Regions from separate parts of the Homo sapiens genome. Here all the other regions are linked to region 1. Evidence: promoter capture Hi-C in 16 types of primary human blood cells and fetal thymus (Javierre and others, 2016). All regions are on one chromosome and are shown on one strand. Each heading gives the region's core, a stretch centred on a gene start or on the middle of the fragment in contact. The rest is flanking DNA. Distances are from core to core; before and after follow the strand shown.

Region 1 (2,700 bases), core at 125-2,624:
ACAACAAAAAAACAAAAACCCATGTTAGAGTTAATGGTAAAATTGAATGGGAGGAGGTGTGAGGAAAAAAATATATTAATATGAAGAAAGTGGAGTCAGGTTACTTTGCACCTTGGAGCATGTTTTAACAGTGGTTGCATTAGTAGGGATCAGGAAGAGGTTTTGGGGCAGAAGATTAGTTCAATTTTTTTTTTTTTAAAGACGGGGTCTCACTGTTACCCAGGCTGGAGCGCAATGGTGTGATCTCAGCTCACTGCAACCTCCACCTCCCGGCCTCAACGATCTTCCCACCTCAGCCTCCCTTAGTTCAATTTTTGAAAAGTCAGTTTTGAAGTGACAATTTTATCATGCAGCAGATATACAGACCAATTAAATGTATTTAATTGGCCTGGCACAGTGACTCACGCCTCTAATCCCAGAGTTTTGGGAGACTGAGGCAGGAGGATCCCTTGAGGCCAGGAGTTCAAGACCACCTTGGGCAACATAGTGAGACCCTGTCTCTACAAAAAAAAATATACATATATATATATATAATATATTTAAAAACTTTAATTGTGAAAATATAATGAAATTAGTAAGTTATTTTCTAATTTACTAATTTCTGGTGGTCCTTGCTAAAGAGTGGCATATCAAGTTTATTTTATTGAACCTGTTTCAGATACTGCTGTTGGGGGTGAGCCTTTACCCACTGTTTGTTTTTGCTAGTTTTTGCTTTTGACTGCAGTCTTAGAAGGAAGCATATAGTAGGAATACAATTGATTTTATTATACATTAAAAAATTAAGTCCCAGAGTCCTATAATTGGGAATATCTTGAATAAAAACTTCATTAGAACAAGGTAAAAATATTGCTGGCCTTGGAATACAATCTAACACACTAGAGAGAGGTTTCTTCTCCAAGCGAGTATTAAAAGATATAATGCAGGTAAATTAGTAATAGCACGACAAATATTAGCTGCTATTATCATCATCAAGTTAAACACAAATGTATCACAAATACACGTACGTAATTCTCCGCAAATGTATATACTAGTCGTCGATACTGGTTCATACAGGTATTTTCATTTTTTACTTAAAAGTATAGCGCTCCTGGGAAAATCACTGATTAGGTTCAGATTAATACATAAAGCAGTAAGAACTTAAAGATAATATAAAAAGAACTGCTTTTAAAGGTTATGTTCTATGTATTGCACTGGGACGTGGAATATAATCCTTTTTACAGGAAAACTGATGCGCCTAGGAACCATTCTCTCGTGCGACTTGGTCTCCAGCCGGATCTCAGTCAGTATAGAACTAGGTTACCGCACACGTTGGCGGGGGTGGGAGGGTGTGAGACTGGCCTCCACACCACGAAAGATCCATCCCGGAAGTGCTTACTGGTCGTCTCCATGCGCCGGTTCCTGGGCGTCTTAGAGCCAAGGCGCGAGGCTCGGAGTGAGAGGTAGAGCTGGAGGGGACCCTAAGCGCCCTCCGCCCGGGACGTGAGCCGCTGCGCCCACCGGGCTAGACCCGGCGCCATCATGCTGCTTCTGCCAAGCGCCGCGGACGGCCGGGGCACCGCCATCACCCACGCTCTGACCTCTGGTAAGTGCCCACCCAACCTCGGTTCCTTCTCACCTCAGCTGCCCCTGCCTCAGTCCTCCGCCTCGGCAACCCTGGGCTCTCTCTACCCTTGACCCTGGCGACTAGCCCCGGGGCCGTATGGGGCCGTGACGAGTGCCTTTTTGCTCCGTGTTTTAAAGTAATCCTACCCTAGATTAGAAGGAAGGAGGGTGAGGGGTGCCTTCCTTTTGCTCCTACCGTTGCTTCCTCCTCTCGCCGCTGCTGACTCATGGATTGGGCTGAGCATTTCGGGACGGAACCCCCCAGCACCCCAGAAAGGTTCTCATAAGCATCTCCTTGCCTACGGTGGAAAGACTACGCGCAGCGAGCACCCCACGTGCCTGGGGTCGTACAAAGCTTTGCTACTGGCGCTCTCTTAAACAACTTTCTCCCTCTCTACGTTTGCTCCGGCCTTGTTTTTTAAATGTCACAACTCAGACACCGCTCCTCATACTCGGTGTTCAAAGACTGTGCTGCTGAAAAGATCCGCGTAGACTTTGAAAGGCAGTTATTACAAGTGAAACTTGTCCTGCTGCTGTAGGTTTTAGTTTTATGGCCCAGGACAGTCATGAGTATTGTAAACTTAAGAGTCTTCAGGTCCAGTGATCTACAGTAATTCCCATAGCCAGTCACATAGGCGCTTGTTGAATGTGATTTTGAACATAACCCATGGCACGTGTTGCATTTATGTGTCTCCGTGTGCCTCTTACAACTAGAGCAAAAGGCTTAAAAGGCAGTGTTCTTAAAAGCCACACACCCATACTACACAGGTAGTACCTTTTTGACAGTGTTTTAATCCTCTCCTGTGTAAGGTGGAGGAAATCTTAAAATAAGTTGTTCAGGGATTTTCCTTTTTTGAATTGCTAGTATACACATGTACAGTGATTTACCCCCACTTCCCAGGAATAGATGATACCTTTACTACAAGTTTGTAATTTCAGAGAGTTTCTGTGGTCTCATTCAAGCTTCCTAGGAACTGAATGAGATAAATAGGTATTGTTCCCATTTTACAGGTGAAGACATCCTGATTCATTTCAGGTCACATAGCCACTGTCAGACCTAGTCTAAAACCCAGAGTGTCTGGTTTCAGATTGAGAGCT
Region 2 (2,700 bases), core at 22-2,521, 830 kb before region 1:
AATGATTCTTACATAATAATGAAAGGACTTCTAGTCCCATAGGATAATTATGGCCACCTAAATTCAATTGTGTCCACAATATCAATAAAGAGAGCTAATAGAACCACCCATAACTCTTGCCTGCTGTATTAACAGGAGTTAGAGATTGCTACAAGCTTCATTTTATATACCAGTAGTGAAGTAAACAACTGAAACCAACAGGGCCAGCTCTGGAGCTCATGCTGAGGTGAAAAGTCAAACAAAGACTGAAAGGAAAAGAGAAGATTGTTGGGACAAGGGATACGTTGACTAGTAGTGGTGAAATACAAATGAAATTACTTGAAGAAAGAGAGTTCAACCCTGAGTGAGAAAGTATTGAACAGTTCTGAGGCTGGAAGGATTAGAGCACTGGCTACTGGAGAATCAAAGTGACATTTTGTTTTTTGTTTTTTTGTTTTTTTGAGACAGGGTCCCATTGTCTCGTCCAGGCTGGAGTGCAGTGGCAAGATCACAGCTCATAGCAGCCTCAACCTCCCTAGGTCCAGGTGATCCTACCACCTGAGCCTCCCGAGTAGCTGGGACTATAGGCATGCGCCACCACACCTGTCTAATTTTTTGTATTTTTTTTGTTTTAAGAGTATGGGGGCCAGAGTTAGCATGATAGTCTTGGGAAAGTACTGTTTTGAGGAGAGACAAGTAGTTGATTCAGAAGGGTGTGGTATTCCTTTGAGAGTTGGTAATGAAGGAAAAGAATGGAAAGAAAGGATAGAAATTAAAGATTCCTCTCATCCCCCAAATAAAAAAGAAATGACAAAATCAGAAGCTAATCCCTCCTTTTCATAATAGCACCATATATTAAAGAAACTTGACTTCATTATTTTTCCAGAAGGGAGCACTTTAGAATTAAGTAATTGTGCCATTCCGCAACCTTACCCCTGCATTCATAAAGTCACCTGTTATTACTGACCAAGCCAAACATTAGGTATTTCAAAATGAATAAAAGACAACATGGAAAAGCCATGTAAAGGTATTATTTAGGAAGAAACAGAAAATGTGAATAAAACAGTTTAGTTGATGAACATTTCCCCCTTAACACCCAAAACAAAGCAGAGGAAGACTGCAATACCACACCTTTACTTGGTTTAGGTTTGTTTAAAAAGCATTTTCAGGTATGGAAAGCATTCTTTAAGTTTGAAATTCAATAACTTAGAATAAATGGACAAAGAACAGGGGGATGTGAAATAAAAGTTGATCAAACTCAGGAGCAAAGTTCAGGCAATAGTAGTTATCTCAGAAATGAAAATGAAAAAATAAGATATCCAAAGGAAAGTAGATTCAACTGAGAATATAGTAAGAGACATTGAGGAAAGGACTGAAAATAATCAAGAGAACAAAACTAAAAAAAGAGGTAAAAATAATCAGGTAGGATGTGACAAATATGATAGACAAAGAAGATTTAACATATATTTAATTGGAGCTCCTGAAGACAGAAAAGAACAATGGATTGGAGTTAAGATCTAAAATTATAATCCAAGAAAACGTTCCAGAAATAGAAGACCTAGCTTTACACATTAAAACAGTTCATTTTCCCAATTAATCCAGAATGATCAATTCTGAAACTGTACTAGTATATTGTACTGTAACAAATTATCAGAAATTTAGTGATTTAGGACAACACATAGTTACTGTCTTACAGTTTTGTATGTCAGAAGTCTAAAACAGGTCCACAGGGCTTTTCTTCTGGAGGTTCTCAAGGAGAATCTATTTCTTTGCCTTTTCTAACTTCTAGAGGCTGCCTTCATTCCCTGGCTTGTGGTTCCATTCTCCATCTTCTAAGCTAGCAGTGTAGCATTTTCTCTTCTCTCTGACTTGTCTTCCTCTTAGAAGGATCCTTCTGACTCTATTGGGCCTATCTGGATAATGCAGTGTAATGTCTATCTGAAGATCCTTAACTCAGTCACATCTGCTAAGTCCCTTTTACCCCATAAGAATGTATTCACATGTTCTAGGGATTTGGACTTTGGTATCTTTGGAGGCAGAGCCATTATTCAGCCTACTACAGAGACTTCTTGGAAAGCATTTAGACTTTAAAAATAACAGAAAAAAACCTCTGAGCTTTCAGGCAAAAAATAAAAGTCACTTACAAAGGAAAGTCAGTGAAAAAGTGAAACAAATGGATCAACAATTTCAAGAAACTCAAGGAGAAAGGAAGTGTAAGCCAAATAATTTTATGTTCAGTCAAACCTGTCATTGAACTATCAAGGCTAGAGAAAAACAATATTAAACATGGAAGAACTCAGAGAACACTACTCATAAGACATTTCTTAGGACGACCTTGATGTGAAAAAGAGATGACTGGAGAAACTAACAAAAGGATTGATGATGAACATTGAATTTAATTAAGCTTAGCTCCAAACTAAAATTAAGGTGGAAATAAGAGTAGAAGAATAGTATGTAAATATTATGTATTCTGACAAGGTAGGAATATTACAACTTAAAAATTGGGAAAAGAAGGAAAAGAGAAAGGGGAAAATTAAACTTGTTGATTGCTATACAGGTGAGAGATGGGCATCAAAGAATACTTCAAAAGCTAAAACTACTTTTTTTAAAGTATACTCAAAGAAGGCCCACACTCATCCTTATCACTTCCACCCTGTTCTTCATGCAGATTTTGGATATTTAATTGTTCTAATCTGGCATTATTTTTAAATTAGCCCTGTA
Region 3 (2,728 bases), core at 88-2,587, 810 kb before region 1:
ATTAGTCTCACAAGTAAGTGAAGAGAATAGTAGCACATTTAACATTTTATGTTAATGTTCAGATTTATTGAACTTAAATATGACTTTAAATTTTTTTTTAGATTATTATTTTAGTCTTACCTGGTTTTTACCTTTAGTACAATTTTGCAGTCATTATCTTGGGTCATTTTTAAAATTTTCATTCCAGTAAGATAAATGTAGCCCTTCTATGTATGCCTGAACTTCATGGGTGACAAAGCATTAATTCTGGTATTTCATTCTTTTCTCCTTTCCTTTCTGCTCTCATCATAAGATAGAATGGAATACATGCAGTAAATGGGTAAAGTTTATAGGTATTCTTTCTAAATTTTTAATTTGATCAGTTATGATTTTGAAGACCATTTGTCAGCTTTTAAAGAAATAGTATTGTCTTTTTTTCCAGAAATATATTAAAGCCAAGTTATGCTTTTTAATTCTTTTTTTCTTAAAAGAAAAAAATATGGGAATTTCCGAATTATCTGTTTCATTCTTTTTATAGTTCTATGTCTCCTCTTACTCATTCTTACCTCCCCTACCCAAATACTCTTGTAGTTAGGTCAGAGCAATAGGAGTACAGTTCTTTAAGATTATCAGAGATACCACTTATTTTAAAATCTCAAAGCCATATTGCTTTATTTTTTTCCCAGAGAATAAAATTGCTGGAGAGTTTATTTCTAAAATCATTGGTATAGGTTTCTAAAGTGACTTGTAAAAGGAATATGTTTTAATTTTCATTGATCTGCTTCGATCAATTTGCATTTTGGAAAATAATTTTTGAAAGTAGTTTACTATAATTCTGCCATTTAAAAGGTTTTATTTTAATAATATTACTATATTATAAAATAATGTATTCTGAATTAATACCAAGAAACAGCTGAAAGATTAGAAAAGGAGCATAGTTCTTTTTAAAAAATAGTTCTGTGTACCATATTGACAAGTTGGATTTTTCCATAATTAATACCTAATTTCTGAGTGGTTTCATACTTAGTTGTACATAATAAAAAATTTAGAGTGTTTTTGCAAATTTATTTTCATTTATAAGAACATAAACATTTTGTAGCATAGTTTAATATACAAATATATACCTTTTCTGTTTGTACCTTCTCTGCTTATGAACTCATGTCATGATACTATGGATACACTTGGAGTTATTTGTTACATCGATTTAACTTATTGGTCATGAATCAACAATCGTTTCTTACGGAGGTTTTATTTATTGTAATAGCATTTAGACAACCTTACTACTCATTTAGGTGTTGTTTTATAAGATATGTAGGATATATCCAAACCAATTGTTTTTCTCAAATGAATTTATCATCAGTCAGAAAGCAGAATGATAATTTAGTTGTTTCATCTATGAAAATTTTTTTTTTAGCAAATACTTCATCTGTAATTCACCATAGCTGTAGGAAGATGTTTTTGCTATACTGTACTTGTTAAGGTAGCTAACGTTTTATTACACCAAAAATAGATTTTGGCATATTTCTTCAAATACAGGTAGATATGTGGTAAATTTATATAGTTTTCAGTTTTCTAAAGAGGAGACGTTGTTAATTTTTATTTAATTCTAAAACGTTTATAAATAAAAATATTTTAATCTAATTCACATTTCAAGTTCAAAGTCAGTGTTTATTTTTTTTCCATGGTTGGAATTAAATTTATCTTTCTCTGCTTAAAATTTCATTTAACAAATATTTACTAAGTGTCTACTATGTTTCAGGCATTGTCTTGGATAAAGAGAATACAGAAATGAAGATGTGTCTGTGGATTCCACAGCCCTTCATTTGTGCTGGTGCAGCCACCAGATTCTATTTTATATGTTTAGAGTTAATGGTGTATATATGTATTTACTGTGAAGACATATATGTGCTGAAGGAACTAATACTTAAATACTTAAAGTGAATACTAATAAGTACTTAAAGTGAATAAATAAGAGTTTTTTACTTAAGTAGTTCTTAATATTTTATAACTTAGATATTTAAGTGTTTTCTACTGAGTCATAACAAACCTGTTTGTTGAATATTTCCTTCTGACATGCCTTGAACTTAGTGTTTGAAGCAATGATTGATATTTATAACTAAATTTTGTTAATACCCAATTAAATTTAGTTATGACATTGGTGTCAGACAATCTCAAGACTTGGAACTTAAGTTATGGAGAAGTAATCAGTATATTGTATATGGCCTAGTATATACAGTCTGAGTGGCTTTTCTTAAAAAGTTACATGGCTATATTTGAAATACTTCATAATGGAAAATTATACTCATGTCCTTTTTTAATATACATTATTTCAAACTGCTTTTATAGATTTTTAACCAAAAGCACTTTAAATAAATTTTATGAAGACTTTATGATAAAATTTCTTTACCTTAAAAGTTAATTTGCATATTACATAATATTTATATTTCTACAAAAAGTAGCTACATTCATTAAACGCTAGTCAGATAACACTAGAAATCTAGTAGATAAAAATATCTAATCCATTTATTGATCAGGTAACAATTTGAATTTTGTAGACATAAAGAGTAACATCCTAAAATCTAGCTGTAAGATATTTATATAAATTGATTTGAGTGTGGGCATTATCTTTATAGACATTAAACTTGGTGACTAAAAGGGACAGTTTTCCTTAAAATTCCATGGATACTAAATTATTAGAAACGTGAAGAGCTCTTCCTTTGCAATTTCTCTGCATTTCATTTGTCCTGTG
Region 4 (2,781 bases), core at 90-2,589, 840 kb before region 1:
TGCACACTTTGAAACAACCAGATCTCATGAGAACTCTATCACAAGAACAGCTAGGGGGAAGTCTGCCTCATGATTCAATCACCTCCCACGAGGCCCCTCCTCCACTGAAAATTTCAAATGAGATATGGGTGGGGACACAGAGCCAAACCATATCACCCATCAAGAAACACCTCATTAGTATAAATTGAGGTATGTTTTAAAAGGACTTATTATGAGTAACAAAAGATACTCCTCTTATCCTTCTCATTCAGGGAATTATGAGGGTTTTTAGAAGCTCTGTGCCAGGAACTGCAGTGAAGATCAAATATATATTTTTTATTATATCACAAATCACACTTTTGTATTCTAATCTTGTAATAGTTTTATTATTCCTTAATTGTTGCTGGGTCTGGGTGTTTTTTTTTTAATACCTTTGTTATAAAATGCTTGAAGATATGATTAGTGTACTATGTTAATCATTATAAGTTATTTTGTGTCCTGTGAACAGGCAACCTTCAAAAGATCCTGTCCCATGATCATCCTCCAGAGTATTCAGCTGATTTCTATGCTGCCTACATTAACATTCTTCTTGGAGTTTTCTACACTGTTTGTCGAGATTTGAAAGAGCTCAGACATCTGGTAAATGAACATTTTGCTTGAATATATATATATGTGTGTGTGTGTGTGTGTGTGTATACATATATGTGTATATATGTATTTTAATGTTTTCCATGTAGAAATGGTATGAGATAGGTTAGAAACTGAAATTTTATTCTGGGAATTTGCATATGGCCTCTAGAGACTAACATACCATAAGAAGGTAGATGTCTGTGGGTTAGTACAAACTTTGATTGTTTGATCTGATCAGAAAAATGTCATTCTCAGATCTTCTTACTCTTCCTTGTTTTTTCTCTAATTGCAGAAAATGCAGAACTCCATAAAAATCAAAATGAGGAATAACAGAAAAGAGATGTAAAAACTTGAGCAGTTTTACAACTCTGTTAATATTTTGTAACAGATTTTGTTCAAGTTTTATGTATGCGGTGATTGAGGTCTAGAATCTAGATGGATTTGAGTATGGTCAGAAGCTTTCATTGCAGGTCTTTCATTAACCACTGACCCTGAGCTGGTAATCTTTGTATAGATGGTTCTTTTTAATTTTTTTTTTTTAACAATTAGAATAGCTGTTTATATTTCATAGACAGTTTGGAAAATGTTGATGTTTAATTTTTCTTTGACCTTTTTTGTTTTAATTGTAGGGATGGGAAAGGAAAGAGACAAGAATTTCTGTTTTCCCTTTTAGAAATCTTCAATTAATTAAGATCTTATCTCCATTTAACAGAAAATAGTAATATATCTGAGGCTGGAAAACAGTCACTTTCAAAGTAACAGATTCTATGTCTCTTAGCACATTTTCTTCACTTTGTTCTTTTTCTGTTTTTGCCCTGAAAAGTATTACTTAGTTTCAGTGTGTGTTTGCGACAGAACACAGAAGGCAATCATTTAAAATTATGCTCACATTTAGTATGTTTTTGAAAGTTTCAGATTTCAGGGCTCCTCTGATTTACATGTAGATTTCAGACATCTTCTCAGCTGGGAAAAAACAAAACAGTTTTTCCAGTTCAAGCTTATCACTAACATTCCTCTAGAAGTTGGATGTCTTGGGATCCCTGGCTTCTGAGGGAAATGATAACACAAGAGACTTACAGAGAGGAGAGGGTCAGGAAAACGCACCTGAGTGAGATGGACTTAGGAGCAGATAATCCTCCTCGGTCTTTCCTGGAAAGTAACTTGCAGTTACCACTCTTTAGCACTCGAATCCTGTGGGAATCTGTGCTGACAGCCATTTCAAAGTAGATTATAAAGTACAAGAAGGAAAAATTTAGGGAAAATATTTATGGGAAAATAAAATGTAAAGAGAGAAATATATATTTAAATGTGGTATTTTTTAAAGTTCTTCGAGTTTCACTGTGGAATGATTTTATTTAGGGTGAGGTTACAGCTTTTTAAAAAATAATATTCATAAATGTGTAGTATGGTTTAAGTCTTATACTACTATTGGTAATAATAGAGAAAAGGATCCTTAAACATTAGAGAAAAATAGCACAATGTTCTTAGTTTTCTCTATATATAGAACATGGAAGAATAAAGATATTCATTTTCTTTTTTTTCTTCAGATAGTGTTGTTTGTGTTTGTTTCAAAGTTTGTAAGTGGCATATTTCTTGAAAGTTTATTAAATCACCTGAAAAATATTCTTTTCAGGGATCTTTTCTGGAAAGATGCTTTATGAATTGATATTTCTGTATTTTTCAGAGGCTAGTTCTATAGGTAGCTTAAGATAGGAGAAAATGAAGTACTACTTTGATATTCATTTAGGTTTGTTTTCTCTAACAAACCTTATGATACTGCCTTTTTAACTGTTATTCATAAATTATTAAACATATTTTAGTGTTTCAACCAAAGAGAAAATCAATACAGTTGCCCCTTGGTATACTTGGGGGATTGGTTCCAGGACCAGTCCCATATATATCAAAATCCTAGCACACTCAAACCCTGCGATCAACTCCGCAGAACCTGAGTGTAAAAAAGTTAGCCCTCCATATACATGGGTTTTGTATTCCCTGAGTACTGTTTTTGATCTGTGTTTGTGATCTGTGTTTGGTTGGAAAAAAAAAAAAATCTGTAGACAAGTGGACCCTCACAGTTCAAACCTATGTCGTTCAAGGGTCAGTTGTTTATTTTGATTAGCCAAATTGTGTACCAGTTGCTGTTAACATTATGACACTTTAGTGTTATTACAC
Region 5 (2,710 bases), core at 44-2,543, 600 kb after region 1:
ATGTTTTTTCCTGTATACATATCAATGATCAAGTTTAATTTATAAACTAGGCATAGTAAGAGATGAACAATAATAACAAATACAGCAATTATAACAATATACTGTAATAAAAGTTATATTACTGTGATCTGTCAAAATATCTTAATATTTTCCTACAACAGCTGAGGCAGGTAACAAACTGAGACAGCCAAACGGTGGATAAGGGAGGACTACGGCATCTACTATTTGGGCAACTCTAAGCATTATAAAAGATGATCTTAAAAATGCTAAATGCTATTATTATTACTATCATCATCATCATCAATATCTTCCATCAGTCCCAGGAAGAATGACAGTCTGGGGAGCCCTTCCTAGAAAAGTGTGTGTACACAGTGGCTTGCCATTTAGGAAAAGCTAAGAAAGGTATCTTGCAGGCATTATTATTGAAGCTTCCTAGGCAGGCTTACCATGTGTTTTTCTTCAAAGCTTGCTACTCATGGAAAACTTAGGCCAAAAAGAATGGAAATATAACAGTAAGAAGCTGGGCGCCCGTCTAAAACCAAATACTCAAACCAGGTGATACCCGGAACATCCTATTGACAGGGCTGTTTTGGGACAGACCCCCAGGCTGTGAGCAAGATGAAATGTAGATGGACTGCCATACCATTGAATGAATTGTCAAGAAACTTCAACCTTGAAAAATAAGCCAGTTTGCTAATGACAACGGGATAAAGGAGAACACAAGCGGCTCCAGAAATAGAATTTGACCTGGATTATACCAAATCATGTTTCCATTCGATGTATAAAATTTCTATAATTGGGAACCTAATTTTTAAATACTACTCGGACACTCAAGAACAGAACAGAGGAAAAGGTGCATTTCCGAAGGGGCCAACTGTAAATTAGGTTTAGAGAGCCAGGACCAATTAAAAGTGCACGTCGACCACATTTATTAAGTTCACTGTGCGTTCCCTGGGACCCAAACCCGTTTTCACTTCACTTCACTTGCCAAACTTCAGGGGCGCGTTCACCTCCACGGACGCCTGGGGGTGGATAGTATCAGACACAATGGCCATCTCCTCCAGATCCTCGTCGTACTTCACCTGCAGGCCGTCCAGGCCCCGCACGCCGCCCTCCACGCCGCACACCGCGACCAGCACGCGGTCGCCATCCGGGTAGGTGAGGGGGTCCAGGGGCCTCACGGCCAGGTGGCACGGGAGCCGCGCCCGCAGCCGACCAAACGGGCTCACCTGCAGTGTCCACTCCTTCAGAGTTCGGCGCCCCGGGCCAGGCGGAGGGACCTCAGTCTCCGATCCGGGCCAGCGCTCGCTCCCACCTGAGCTGTACGGCCTGGCTTGGCAAGCCCAGCAAGCCCAGCGCCCAGCGCCAGCCCACAGTCGGACCTGACGGAGACAGAGACGGAAGCAGCCAAGCTCCCAACCTGAGCAGGGGGCAAGCATGGCGCGCCTCTCTCGCCAGTCCTCAGAACACTTCAGCCACAGGGAGGGTCACTTGCCACGGCCAATCGACTTGGCCACTGTGCCGCCTCAAGTCAAATAGGAGACGTAAGTCAGGGTTTGCTGAAACAAGAGCGAGCCGGTTGGCTTGACTAGGCGTTCTAAACATCAGCCGCGCAATCCCCAGGGGCAAGTTGGGATTTGAAAGCTCTAAACTCTGACCTGGACCCCTTGCCTAAGTCCACCCCCTTTCGCTAAGGCCGACGGGATAGGTAGTTCTAAGTCGCAGAGCTCTGCCTCTTAGAAACCACATTTCCCAGGAGGCAATGCGCAGGGGAGCACGGGTAAGAGGGTAGGTGTTAGAATCGCTGGAAAGGCGGGCGCCCTTTGTCTCAAGACCATTGGCTATTGGAGGGGCGGTACATGGGAGTCCACTGGCCAATGGGAAGCACGGAAGGGGCAACGCGGGTAAAGCTGCGTGGTCACCTTGGATACCAAGCACGCGACTTCTTGGTTGGAGAGGGTGGAGCTTTGGAGTGAGACCCAGGACGCCAAATCCCAAAGAGAAAAATAGGAGCCTAAATAAGGATCAGGACCAAGGGAAGGGGTAAGAAACTGCGCTTTTTAAGATGACAACTAGGTGCAAACTAGGAGTAACCTCTGTGGATGTCAACATCCAAGCTTCACTAACTTAGTGAGGGCATCTCCAGGGCATGGAGAATGCCTTGGTAAGAAAGTAAAGAGCAAGATTGGTGCTTTTTGAGGGAATTGCCTCTTTGGAAGTGTATTCCCTCCTATATTCCAAATATAGGAATAGAGTACTTGCTCCGTCCTGACCCTAAGTGACCTTACTTTGGGTTTTAATTTGCTCACTTTAAAAATGTAGATAATAATACCTTCCTTGCCTTGCCTCAAAGGGTTTTTGTAAGGATCAAGTAAGAAAATGGATGGGACCGTGGTGCACAGTCTACAAAATTACCGTGTAAAGAACTGTATTTTTATTTCAACGTACTTAACATTGATTCTGAGTTACCAAGAAAATTATGAGAGATCAGAACTTGTTTTGAGAATAGCATTGATCTCTTTGACTACAAATGATCCTCAGTTTTAGAGTGAAAAAAAAAAAAAAGACACAAAAAAGAGAGTCACCATGGTGCGGTGGAAAGAGCAGGGACAAGGGTCAGGTTATTTTCCTGGCTCTGCCACTGCTTCATCTGTGTCACCTAGACCTGTTTCTTTAGTTTTAAAATGAAGAAAGATGGTTCTAAATGACC

The links. The method cuts DNA at HindIII sites, captures the fragments that hold promoters and counts their contacts. A CHiCAGO score of 5 or more calls a contact.
Region 2: a fragment that was not itself captured here is called in contact with the fragment with the promoter of DNAJC2 in region 1 in 2 of 17 cell types (naive CD8 T cells and activated CD4 T cells); the score reaches 5.5 in naive CD8 T cells.
Region 3: a fragment that was not itself captured here is called in contact with the fragment with the promoter of DNAJC2 in region 1 in 5 of 17 cell types (naive CD8 T cells, naive CD4 T cells, fetal thymus and 2 more); the score reaches 8.5 in naive CD8 T cells.
Region 4: a fragment that was not itself captured here is called in contact with the fragment with the promoter of DNAJC2 in region 1 in 7 of 17 cell types (naive CD8 T cells, erythroblasts, endothelial precursors and 4 more); the score reaches 7.1 in naive CD8 T cells.
Region 5: a contact is called between a fragment that was not itself captured here and the fragment with the promoter of DNAJC2 in region 1, in 1 of 17 cell types (fetal thymus). The highest score is 6.2, in fetal thymus.

What each region holds. Positions count from the first base shown.
Region 1 is chr7:103,343,441-103,346,140 of GRCh38, reverse strand. DNAJC2 (DnaJ heat shock protein family (Hsp40) member C2) reads left to right here and starts at 1,374. Exons shown (of 17, transcript NM_014377.3): 1 at 1,374-1,582. The coding sequence starts at 1,519. It also overlaps a transcript of PMPCB not described here. RefSeq lists an enhancer at 1,192-1,431. The HindIII fragment of the contact is 5,590 bases long and covers 1-1,959 here.
Region 2 is chr7:104,169,595-104,172,294 of GRCh38, reverse strand. All of the region lies in intron 8 of ORC5 (origin recognition complex subunit 5), which reads left to right. Among named protein-coding and RNA genes, the nearest start is that of ORC5, 37 kb to the left of the region's middle. The HindIII fragment of the contact is 2,228 bases long and covers 158-2,385 here.
Region 3 is chr7:104,153,625-104,156,352 of GRCh38, reverse strand. The region is part of intron 12 of ORC5 (origin recognition complex subunit 5); the gene reads left to right. Among named protein-coding and RNA genes, the nearest start is that of ORC5, 53 kb to the left of the region's middle. The HindIII fragment of the contact is 9,851 bases long and covers 1-2,728 here.
Region 4 is chr7:104,186,088-104,188,868 of GRCh38, reverse strand. ORC5 (origin recognition complex subunit 5) reads left to right here. Exons shown (of 14, transcript NM_002553.4): 6 at 488-618. Among named protein-coding and RNA genes, the nearest start is that of ORC5, 21 kb to the left of the region's middle. The HindIII fragment of the contact is 539 bases long and covers 1,070-1,608 here.
Region 5 is chr7:102,747,937-102,750,646 of GRCh38, reverse strand. FAM185A (family with sequence similarity 185 member A) reads right to left here and starts at 1,648. Exons shown (of 8, transcript NM_001145268.2): 1 at 989-1,648. The coding sequence starts at 1,439. It also overlaps the pseudogene RASA4DP. RefSeq lists silencers at 1,659-1,828, 1,869-1,958 and an enhancer at 1,631-1,925. The HindIII fragment of the contact is 1,652 bases long and covers 468-2,119 here.